3 separate regions of the Homo sapiens genome follow, and regions 2 and 3 are each linked to region 1. The links are contacts of gene promoters, found by promoter capture Hi-C in blood cells and fetal thymus (Javierre and others, 2016). All regions are on one chromosome and are shown on one strand. The core of a region is centred on a gene start or on the middle of the fragment in contact, and the rest is flanking DNA. Distances in the headings are between cores, read along the strand shown.

Region 1 (3,555 bases), core at 403-2,902:
TTACTCTATGGGTAACATTTTATATTGCCAACACTCTTATTTTACAAAGGCATAAACAAGCATTTAATGCACACGTTTGCCCGGCGCGGTGGCTCACGCCTGTAATCCCAGCACTTTGGGAGGCCGAGGCGGGCGGAACACCTGAGGTCTGGAGTTCGAGACCAGCCTAGCCAACATGGTGAAACTCCGTCTCTACTAAAAATACAAAACTTAGCTGGGCGTGGTGGCGGGCGCCTGTAATCCCAGCTACCTGGGAGGCTAAGGAAGGAGAATCGCTTGAACCCGGGAGGCGGAGGTTGCAGTGAGCCAAGACAGTGCCATTGCACTCCAGCCTGAACGAGAGCAAAACCCCGTCTCAAAAAAAACAAAACAATAACAATAATGTACACGTTTCACATTTGGACACACTGAAATCAAACTCACGTATTCAAATTTTTTTAGATTAAGTTACATAAAGCATGCACACCATTTGGCACAGGCCCGGCAAACAATCAGTACTCAACATCACCTGTTATTTTCCTGATTTTCCAACTTTAGAGTCAAACTAAATGTTATAGAATTATATGTATGATTATGTATATACAATATATATAAATACATATAAATACCGTAAATTAAGCTAGTATGTTATTGCGTAAAGTAATGGTCTTACCCTAGACGAAGGTGAGTTTAATTGTAACAGATGAAACAAAGAATAGAAAACTTGTTAAGAAGTGTTCAATGTAAGCTCTCATCTCTGCAGGGTTTCATGTGACTTATAATTACCAGTCAGCTGGTCCTAGAGAACTTAATCAAAATGTATAGTAAAGACGAACTACGTGGACCAGTGGCCATTTATCTGCAAGGTGGCACCAGCCACTGACATCTGATCACTTCCATACTGATGCTGAAATCCTATGCAAATTCATTACTTAGGTCAAGCTGGGAAACACTTCTGTCAAGTCACTACACAATTAAATAAAAATACCCAAAAGGGACTTACACTGACAATGCTATAGCATCCTGGCCATATCCAGTTTTGAAAACACTACGGTGTCAGCCACGCACCATTTAGGACGGGGAGAATGGAAAGCCAGTTTGGAGAACAGACGCTTTCTTAAGAGTACACGTGAATATGAAAAGGGACTCTATGCTCTCAAGACCAAAAAAGAAATCCTCTGCGCCGCCCGGCTACATTGCGCCTGGTGGGACAATGTACACGACCCCTCCCCCGCCGAGTCCCACCCCAAGCGCGCACAGCGGAGCAGGAGGCGCCCGGCACTCGCAGGTAATGCCCGGTCCCTGCCACTTCCGTCGAGTTTTCGCAAAGGCGCCGCACGGCAAGCGACGGCCAGGTCCACGTGGGCCAGCAGGCGCGGGGGACGCAACCCGCCGCCGCCGCGAGCCCCGCCGGCGCCGACCAGCCCTGGCCCCCACCCGCGGGAGCCCGGGAGTCGGGCCGGGGGCTCGCGGGAGGCGGCGCGCGCAGCCCGGGCGGGGGTCGCGGCGCGGTAGGGGAAAGGAGCCCGGCTCCACTCACGCGCCCGGGGGCGGCACTGGGGCCGCCGCTGCGTCTCTCCGGCTCAAAAAACTGAAAAGGGGAAAGGAAAAAAAAAAAAAAAAGACCTGGCTCCTCGTTTCATCCGGAAACCGACCGGCCGGCAGGAAATGACGAAGGCAGAGGGCGTCCAGGTCCGCTCGGTAACCGTTTCCCGCGCGCCCGGCCCCGACTCCGGGGTAAAGAGCCCCGGAGCGGAGCAGCGCTGGCCGCGTGCCGCCTCCGGAGCCGGCAGCGTGAGTGGCCCCGCGTCCCCGCTTCTCCCGGTCCCCGGCGGGGCCGCGTCACCCGGCCCCGCCCCGCGCCGCCCGCCCCGCCCCGGACGCGGGGGTAAGGGGGGTGGCCGCCCGCCTGCCCTCGGTCCCGTGCGGTCCCCGAAACTCCGAGCACCCGCCCGGTCCCGGCGCGGAGCCCCTCGGCGTCGCGTGGAGCTGCGAGTCGCCCGCTTCCGGAAGCGCACACGGGCCAGTTGCGGCGGCCCATCTGCCGGGGCGGCGGGGGCTCGGCGGGAGGGTTGAGGCTGAATCACGCGCAGCCTGCGGGCGGCGGAAACGTCCCTAGAGCCTCGCCGCCCTGGGACCCGGGCTGCTTCCTGGGAGAGGATTACATTTTCTCCCTGCTCCACTTGACTTTCTTCCGGAAGGAGCAGGTCTCGCAGGATCGGGGCCAAGACTGGAAGAGTTCAGGTTTGGGAGTCGTGTGTATAACAGCCCCGCGCCTCCACGCCCAGGCCTGTGTGGCTTTGGACAAGTTATATAACCACCGCCGCCACCCCAGTTTCTTCTCCTGTAAAATGGAGCTTTAGTGCCGCCCAGCAGGGTTGTTGGGATAATTCAGTGACTCTGTGGACTGCCCAGCACCTGTGAATTGCTTTCCTGGATGTTGGGTGAAGGCCTGTGAGCTTGTATGTACCCTTTGGCTTCAGAATACCAAGCCTTTAGTGTTTCAGAGGGATGAGAGAAAGAAATCCCATTTTTTGATGCAGAGGATTTTGTTGTAAGGGACTCTAGGAACTAAGTGGTTCCAATGTGAATTTGTATCAAAGTAACAAAGTTCTAAGTGAGAGACAAAAATGATAACATTCAAGGCACGATGACAAGCGGTGGTCAATTTTAGAATCACCTAGACGTGACATCAGGAACCCAAAATCACGACACAGATTTTAAAGCTTATGATACAGTGACCTAGTCCCTAGAAAAAGTAGTTCTCGGCTGGGCACGGTGGCTCACGCCTGTAATCCCAGCACTTTGGGAGGCTGAGGCGGGCGGATTGCCTGAGCTCAGGAGTTTTGAGACCAGCCTGGGCAGTATAGTGAGACGACCCCCACCCCACCCCCGTCTTTAAAAAAAAAAAAATAAGAATTACCCAGGCATGGTGGCACTTGCCTGTATTCCCAACTACTTGGGAGGCTGAGGCAGGAGAATCCCTCGATTCTGGGACGTCGAGGCTGCAGTGAGCCGAGATCGCACCACTGCCCTCCAGCCTGGGTGACAGAGTGAGACCCTGTTTTTGTAAAAAAAAAAAAAAAAGTAGTTCTCATCCTAAAAGTTTGTCAATCTAAAACCAACCCCTAGTTGTAATATATTGGCAAGTTTATATACTCTTGTTTACTTGAGACTTAATTCAGCCCATCCTAGCCTCTCCTTACTGAAATAGTTCAAGCATTACATTACAGGAAAATGTGAAAAATGGTGTCTTGCTTTAGATTCCAGAGGAAGGCTGTGGTGGTATGCAGTAAGCACGCAGCAGGTGTATGTGTGTACACTTGGTTACACTGTGGCATGCCGGGGAGGAGGGGACGGGGTCATAGTTCAGGCTGCCTGTGGGCTGTGGGTCTGTACTGTGACTCAGGACCAGAGCACTCCTTACTCCTGGCAGCCTTATAAAGTCATGCCATTGATCATGATTGAGGACTGGGCGGGAAAGGCCTCCCCTCTGCAAATCTTTCACAACTACACTCCTAAAAATAACTCAAGTGCATGTGCCTGGAAGCGCAGAAGAGTGACTTCATGACATAC
Region 2 (3,555 bases), core at 746-3,245, 110 kb after region 1:
GGAGTTTGAGACCAGCTTGGGCAACACGGCAAAAACTCATCTCTATAAAAAATACAAAAAATTAGCTGGGTGTGGTGGTGTGCACCTGTAGTCCCATATAAAATTTTATTATAATATTGCTATGAGAGAAGCTGTCTGGCAGTCATAATTCACATGTGTTAGGGTTATATTATTGGATAAGAATTTTTTTAAAAAAAAAGAAATGGGATCTCACTGTGATTGCCCATGCTGGAGTGTAGTGGGTATTCACAGGCAGATCATAACACACTACAACCTTGAATTCCTGTCCTCAAGCTATCAAACTCCTGGCCTCTGCTTCCCGTGTAGCCGGGACTACAGGCGCACACTACTGTGTCCAGGAATAAAATGTTAAGATAATTAGTATGAGGCCAGATACAGAAAGGTCAGCATGTTTGGTTTCCAGAACCTCCGTGTGTGACTGACAGCTAGTAGGTGACTGCTTTCTCAGGACACATCTTTCTAAATCTAGTGAGAAAATTTCTTAAGCATTTTATCAGGAATAAATGATATTCCCAGAAGGAGATTTGAAGTATATCAAGCAAAAAGACTCCGTCCCAGACCGCTTGAGAACAACTTTCCTTACACATTTGTGAAGTTGTTCTCATCCTGCCAGAGTTCACAAAGAGAAGAGAAGAATAGGCAAACTAAAATTCACACAAATCAAACCATACACAGCATAGGGGCCTCCTGGATGCCATGGGTGCTTAAAAAGGCATTTTCTTGAAAGCACTTTATTTCCTCTTAACTCATTGGACTGTTGTTAAGGGCAGATCTTTGGTTTCTCTGCAAGAAACATAAGCACTAGTTAGGAGTCATGCTGGAGAACCAGGAAGAGAGACTCAGCTGGTCACCAAGACACAGTGGAGCAGCGACTCTCACCCCAGAGATTGGTAGAATGACCCAAGAAACTTTATGTGGGACAGCAGGACTGTAACTCAGCCAATGAGACTGGCATCTCTGGACGTGGATCCAAGCATCCCATTTTTTTAAAGTTCTACATCAGTGGTCCTCAGACCTCAGCAAGCATCGGAATTGCCTGGAGGGCTTTGCAAGCACGGATGGCTGGGCACACTCCCAGAGTTTCTGATTCAGCAGGTTCAGGGCGCAGTCAAGAATCTGCATTTCTAATGAGTTCCCAGGTGATGCTGCCCTAGAAGATTCTAACGTGAGCACAAAGTCAAGAACTGGCTCAAGGGGTGGCTCTTCAGCTTCCACACTGGAATCACCTGGGTGCTTGTCAAAACCATAGGCCCTGACTCATAACTAAAATTTAAGATGTGACATTATTTGTTTACACCCTGAGTAGTTTTCACTGAAACTGAACTGAACTTGTCAAAGAACAAAGAAGAAGAAAAGAAAAGCTTATCCCATTGTTGCTCATGCTTGAACATTGCACACAGGGTGTTTACGGAAATGGGAAGGGCCGGTTTGCAGGGAAGGCGTGTTCCTGGGGGCAGAATTAGCAGGAGGTCTGGGGCAGCCAGATGGGTTTATGGATGGCTCAAGGGTAACTAAGTGTCTGTGCATTGCTGAGCGAGGTGAGAGTCTTGGCTGATGTTCCCCACTGTTTGAGAGCATAACACGCAGGGCCAGGACTAGCAGAGGAAAGTAAGATGCCCACTATGGGCTCAAATTGACCTGGGTGCCCCCAGATTCAGGAATTTATAAAATAAATATATTTTCAATTTTTAAAAAGAGACTGGGTCACCCAAGCTGAAGTGCAGTGGTGCAATCTTGGTTCACTGCAGCCTCGACCTTTTGGGCTCAAGGGATCCTTCTGCCTCAGCCTCCTGATCAGTTGGGACTACAGGTGTGTGACACCCTCCTGCAAAAATTTTAATTTTGAAATAATTATAGACTTACAGGAAATTGCAACATTGGTATACCCAACTTCCCCCAATGATGACATCTTATAGTACAAAATCAAAATCAGGAAATTGACATCAGGACATTACTGTTAACTAGACTGTAGATGGCCAGTTTTTAAACCTGTATTCATTTGTAATGTGTGATGTGTGTGTGTGTATGCATATAGTGAATGCAACTGAAGACAAATATTTTAATGCAGTATTTTTTTTTTTTTGAGACAGAATCTCGCTCTGTCACCCAAGCTGGAGTACAGTGGCATGATCTTGGCTCACTGCAACCTCCACCTCCCAGGTTCAAGCAATTATCCTGCTTCAGCCTCCCAAGTAGCTGAGATTACAGGCACCTGCCACCACGCCCAGCTAATTTTTGTATTTTTAGTAGAGATGGGGTTTCACCATGTTGGCCAGGCTGCTCTCAAACTCCTGACCTTGGGCGATCTGCCTGCCTCCCAAAGTGCTAGGATTGCAGGTGTGAGCCACTGCGCCCAGCCAATGCAGTAATTTTAAAAATAAAAATTAATGCAAAAAAATGATAAAAAATACAATTTTAAATAATGACAGGATCCGTAAAAGCTCTGTGCTAACCACATTGGATCCTGAGGCAAAAGGAAATATCAGAAACATTTTGTTCATCATAGATTTGTTTACATAAATGTAGATTTTAAACAATATTGCATTAAAGGATGATTTATCCTGACTGCTGAGCTGTTGGAGCCCCCTAAGCTTTCATACCCGAGATGAGTGCCCCCTCTCCATGCCCTGGCTCTGGCCCTGCAAATGAGGGCGCCCTGACAGTCTGCTCTGTGTGGCGCCTTCCTGGAGGCAGAGAGGGGCCAATGAACCTCTCCTGCTGCTCTTCTCTGCTGCCATCTGCTCTGCTTTTTGGGCTGAGCAGGGTGGCACTGGCACTGTGACTCAGCCCCAATTACATGCTGCAAGAAGGAAGCAGGGCTTCCTCCTCAAGGTAGATGGACCGCAGCAGTGAGCATCTCTGTCCCCTCCCTCTGCCCCCCGGCTTCTCTGGAGTGGAGCTTGGCACCGAGCTGAGCAGTGGCGGAGCGTGCCACCCCATCTTTGCACCAGGAAGTTCAAAAGAGACACCGATTCACCTCCAGGTTCCTTTCCCAAGACTTCATTTTCTTCTGGGATGCCACTGCATCTGTCCTGGTTTGCTTGAGCTGCCATAACAAAGTACCGCAGGCAGGGGCTTAAACAACGGAAACTTCCTCACAGTGCTGAGGGTGGAAGTCCCTGATCAGGTGACAGAGGGGTTGGTTCTCGGAGGATTCTCTCCTCAGCTTGTAGGCTGTCTCCTCCCTGCATCCTCACGGGGCCATCCCTGCGTTTCTGTGTCCCCACCTCATTTTTGTAAGGACACCAGTCATATTGGATTAGGCTTACCCTAATGACCTCCTTTTATCTGAATTACCTTTTTAAAGGCCTTGTCTCCAAATACAGTCACATTCTGAGGTACTGGGGATTATAATTTTAATATATAAATTGGGGCTGGGCGCAGTGGCTCACGCCTGTAATCCTAGCAGTCTGGGAGGCCGACGGATTACCTGAGCTCAGGAGTTCAAGACCAGTCTGGCCAATATGGTGAAACCCCATCTCTACTAAAAATACAAAAAATTAGTCAGGCATGGTGGTGGGCCCCTGTAGTCCC
Region 3 (3,555 bases), core at 821-3,320, 69 kb before region 1:
AAAAAGAAAAGAAAAAATGTAAGTGACAAAATAAAGAACTCGGGGGAATGTGGCTGTATTCTTAGTACACCAGCATCTTACCTCCTGCTGCAGGACTCTTCCTACAAGAGGATATGTCCTGTTGAAAGCAGAAGGTGGTAGAATTCCTCTCTAACCCTCTTCTCCCTAACCAAATTACCCGTATACATCAGCTGTCTGTTGTGTCGTCATCTCTACCTAGAGGCAAGCAGAAAAAGAATCCTGTCAGCTGCACTTAACACACGCCTGCCGGGAAGGTTCTTTTCTGTCGTAGCGAGGGCAGTGATGGGAAGACCCACGGGGCCGAGATCTGTGTCCGCTTAGGCCATGGGGACATCACTCTGTCCAACCAGCCACTCTGCTTATTCACACAGTTCACACACCTCCACACTTCATGTAGACAACTTGAAACTGCAATAAAAGGTCATGCTATCACCAGGCAACACGCACATTATTTTTTGGCCGGAAAACAAAACAAACATACCAAATGGAGCTCCCAGAGGTAGAATCAGAAAATCAAAACAAAAGCCAACAAAAGGATGACAAATAATGTAAGAGACCAGAATTTCTTGAAACACACGCACTTAAGATTTATTTGGTAACTTCTTTAGAACTTAAACTGTGAATATAAAAGTTAGACTAATAAATATTATTTTTGACATCCAAGTTTTCAAAACATTGCCTCCTAATTGATGAAAAACCTTAAGAAAAAAATCTAAATCAACCTTCCTGGAAATTTCATACATCAACCTTGAAAACACATTCACTTAGACAACCTTCAAACAACTCTAAAATAATAAAGCGCTGTTCTACAAAGGTCTTTTTCTGTACTTTCTGAAAAGTATTCACTTAGCTGAAATCTATTTTAGCAACCAAGTTTGCTCAAAAGTTCAGAAAATAAATGGTTGCCTGATATTTAAACACTTTAAAAATCATAAATTAATATGCAGAAAGCAAAAATAAGAGAGTAAATGTGAAACATCCAACCAGTTTTTGAAAAGCCAAAGCAAAAATCACATTTATGGATATGGGCAAAGTACTGCAGGGAAGCGGGTCAGTGGGCGGATGTCCCATCGGTATAGAGAAGAGGCTACTCACCAACCATGGCACTAACTTCCCCAGCCATGAGAGTCTCCACCGTCTCGTTGTACAGGTTCACGTCAATGATACCTTTGCGAATGGTTTCTCCTACTTTGGCGCCTAGTAACACGGAGCCGGTGGTTTCAAATATTGAAGCTAAAATGCATGCCTGCCTCAAGGTCACCACACCAGAGCCCACGGCTGTACCAAAGGAGTTGGCAACATCGTTTGCACCAACAGAAAAGGCCAAGATGAAAGCTATGATGAAACCCAAAATGACCATCCACAAATACTCATCCATGGCCATTTTGGAAAGTGGGTGCCGGGTACTTTTCTTTTGCAGGAATATTTTAAATAAACAAAGCTTGAGGTTATAAACTTCGTAAGGCCAAGAGTTCTTGTAAACAGTGAGTTTGCTCTGGAAAGTGCTGGACAATGTTAGAGGCTGGACAAACTGCTAGCTGCTGGTTTGCAAACTACTGTCAGGACAGTTCATTTGGTTGTGTTCAGTCAGCGGTAAAACACATTCCATATTTTTCCTCCCGATCTGGGAAAGCTGTGATGTCTCCTCCTGTAGCAGAAAGGAAACAAAAGAAATCAATTATACTCAGCAACCTGTAACAGTTTGTTCTTTCAGAAATAAATGTTTTAAGCCTGCTAATGGGATCTAACTTTGGCATGTGACGGACCTAACCATAAAGCAATTCAAGGAAGATTATAATTAGGATAACCACCCCCAACCAAAAACACAAAAAAACCTGCTTTCTAGAATTGTCAGGAGTTGAAGCATGCTTAATAATTACAGACTAATAGTAATCCTTACTAGGTTACATTTTTCATGCAATCGGAAAAACATATTTGGTCATTATTTTCAGAGAGGAACAAGTGCCTCAAATGAGCAAAAGATTAAGAAATGAGAAATTTAGTTGCATGGCTTTTCAAATATGTGGAATGTGTCCAGTTTCCTGGAACAGCAATAACCAAATCTGAGTCTGTGATACCACTGGGTGTGGCCAACGACCCACCTCCACATTTACGCATAAGCAATGAGCACAGTATATTATCATGCATGTGTCTGGGAGAGTTTACAGGCCTGGCGAGAGGTCACTCATCTGGAGGGTGACCAAGGCAGGAACTGACAGGCCCCAGAGAGGAAAAGAGAAGCCTGGAGAATGAGGCAATCCTATCACTACGCCACTATCCCATCTCACTAGGAGGAAAAGCTAGAGGCCCCGCCAGGGTCAGGAAGACCCTTCAGGCCTCCTCGCAGCTCACTGGCCTTAGCTCCTCTCCCCTCCCTCACAATGCCCTGGTGTCACTGTCCCCTTGCAATCCCTTAGAAAGACCAGGCACACTCTCACCTCAGGGCTTTTGTACCTGAGGATCCCTCTGCAGGAAGAATCTTCCCCCACAGCTGCACAGCTCCCTCCTCCCTGCATTCAGGTCCCTGCTCAAATATCACCGTTAAGAGAGGACTTCCCTGACCCCAGAAGGAGCAGCCCCTCCCCCATGCCACTGTTCCTGCTTCTGGGAGGGAGAGGAGATGCCATGAGATACATCCATGAAATAAAAATGTCACTGCAAGCTTCGTAATTATGGTATTCTATTATTGGAGAGCCAAGGCACTGTATATTTTCTTTGAATGGTATCAAGCATATAAATGCTTATTGAGTTGAACTGAATAAATACCACACCATATACAATATAATAATTTGACCCATCAATAAGGTTATTTAAAGGGAAAAATCAGGACACACAATTTTATGTACACTGTGATTATGGCAATGTTGAAAATGCATATAAAAGGCCGGGTGTAGTGGCTCACGCCTATAATCTCAGAACTCTGGGAGGCCGAGGTGGGTGAATCACTTGAGGTCAGGAGTTCGAGACTAGCCTGGCCAACATGGTGAAACCCCATCTCTACTAAAACTACAAAAATTTGCTGGGCCTGGTGGCAGATGCTTGTAATCCCAGCCACTTGGGAGGCTGAGGCAGGAGAATCGCTTGAACCTGGGAGGCAGAGGTTGCAGTGAGCCAAGATCATGCCACTGCACTCCAGCCTGGGCGACACAGCGAGACTCCATCTCAAAAATAAAAAATAAAAATAATAATGCATAAAAATACCCAGGGGTATATACTAAAATTATAATAGAGGTTGAATAGGAAGGTTAGAGACAATTTTTTCCTTTCCTCCCCAAACTGTATACTGTGGTTACATGCTTTTTAAATGAAAATAATATATAATAAACAAATCTACAAACATATTGAGCATCATCGATGTGCAATGCTATAGGCACACAATGAAACAGAAAATATACATTGATAGTTGTTATCATTTCTAAGATTTTTCAGCCTTTGCAATTTTGGAGATTCAGATCCCAAGTGAGACAAATGAAAAGACCACTCTAAGGGCAAAAGACAACATTCCACTGAAAGAGTATTTTATTAATATGACAG

Evidence for each region. The method cuts DNA at HindIII sites, captures the fragments that hold promoters and counts their contacts. A CHiCAGO score of 5 or more calls a contact.
Region 2: a contact is called between a fragment that was not itself captured here and the fragment with the promoter of SMIM19 in region 1, in 4 of 17 cell types (megakaryocytes, M2 macrophages, M1 macrophages and 1 more). The highest score is 7.1, in megakaryocytes.
Region 3: a contact is called between a fragment that was not itself captured here and the fragment with the promoter of SMIM19 in region 1, in 1 of 17 cell types (endothelial precursors). The highest score is 6.9, in endothelial precursors.

What each region holds. Positions count from the first base shown.
Region 1 is chr8:42,539,933-42,543,487 of GRCh38, forward strand. It overlaps SMIM19 (small integral membrane protein 19), which reads left to right and starts at 1,653. Exons shown (of 4, transcript NM_001135674.2): 1 at 1,653-2,441. It also overlaps a transcript of SLC20A2 not described here. RefSeq lists silencers at 1,234-1,513, 1,654-2,073 and an enhancer at 3,234-3,528. The HindIII fragment of the contact is 8,293 bases long and covers 1-2,703 here.
Region 2 is chr8:42,653,733-42,657,287 of GRCh38, forward strand. No RefSeq gene overlaps it. Among named protein-coding and RNA genes, the nearest start is that of CHRNB3, 42 kb to the right of the region's middle. The HindIII fragment of the contact is 1,230 bases long and covers 1,381-2,610 here.
Region 3 is chr8:42,470,986-42,474,540 of GRCh38, forward strand. SLC20A2 (solute carrier family 20 member 2) reads right to left here. Exons shown (of 11, transcript NM_001257180.2): 2 at 1,117-1,669. The coding sequence starts at 1,405. Among named protein-coding and RNA genes, the nearest start is that of SLC20A2, 28 kb to the right of the region's middle. RefSeq lists an enhancer at 3,452-3,555. The HindIII fragment of the contact is 1,221 bases long and covers 1,461-2,681 here.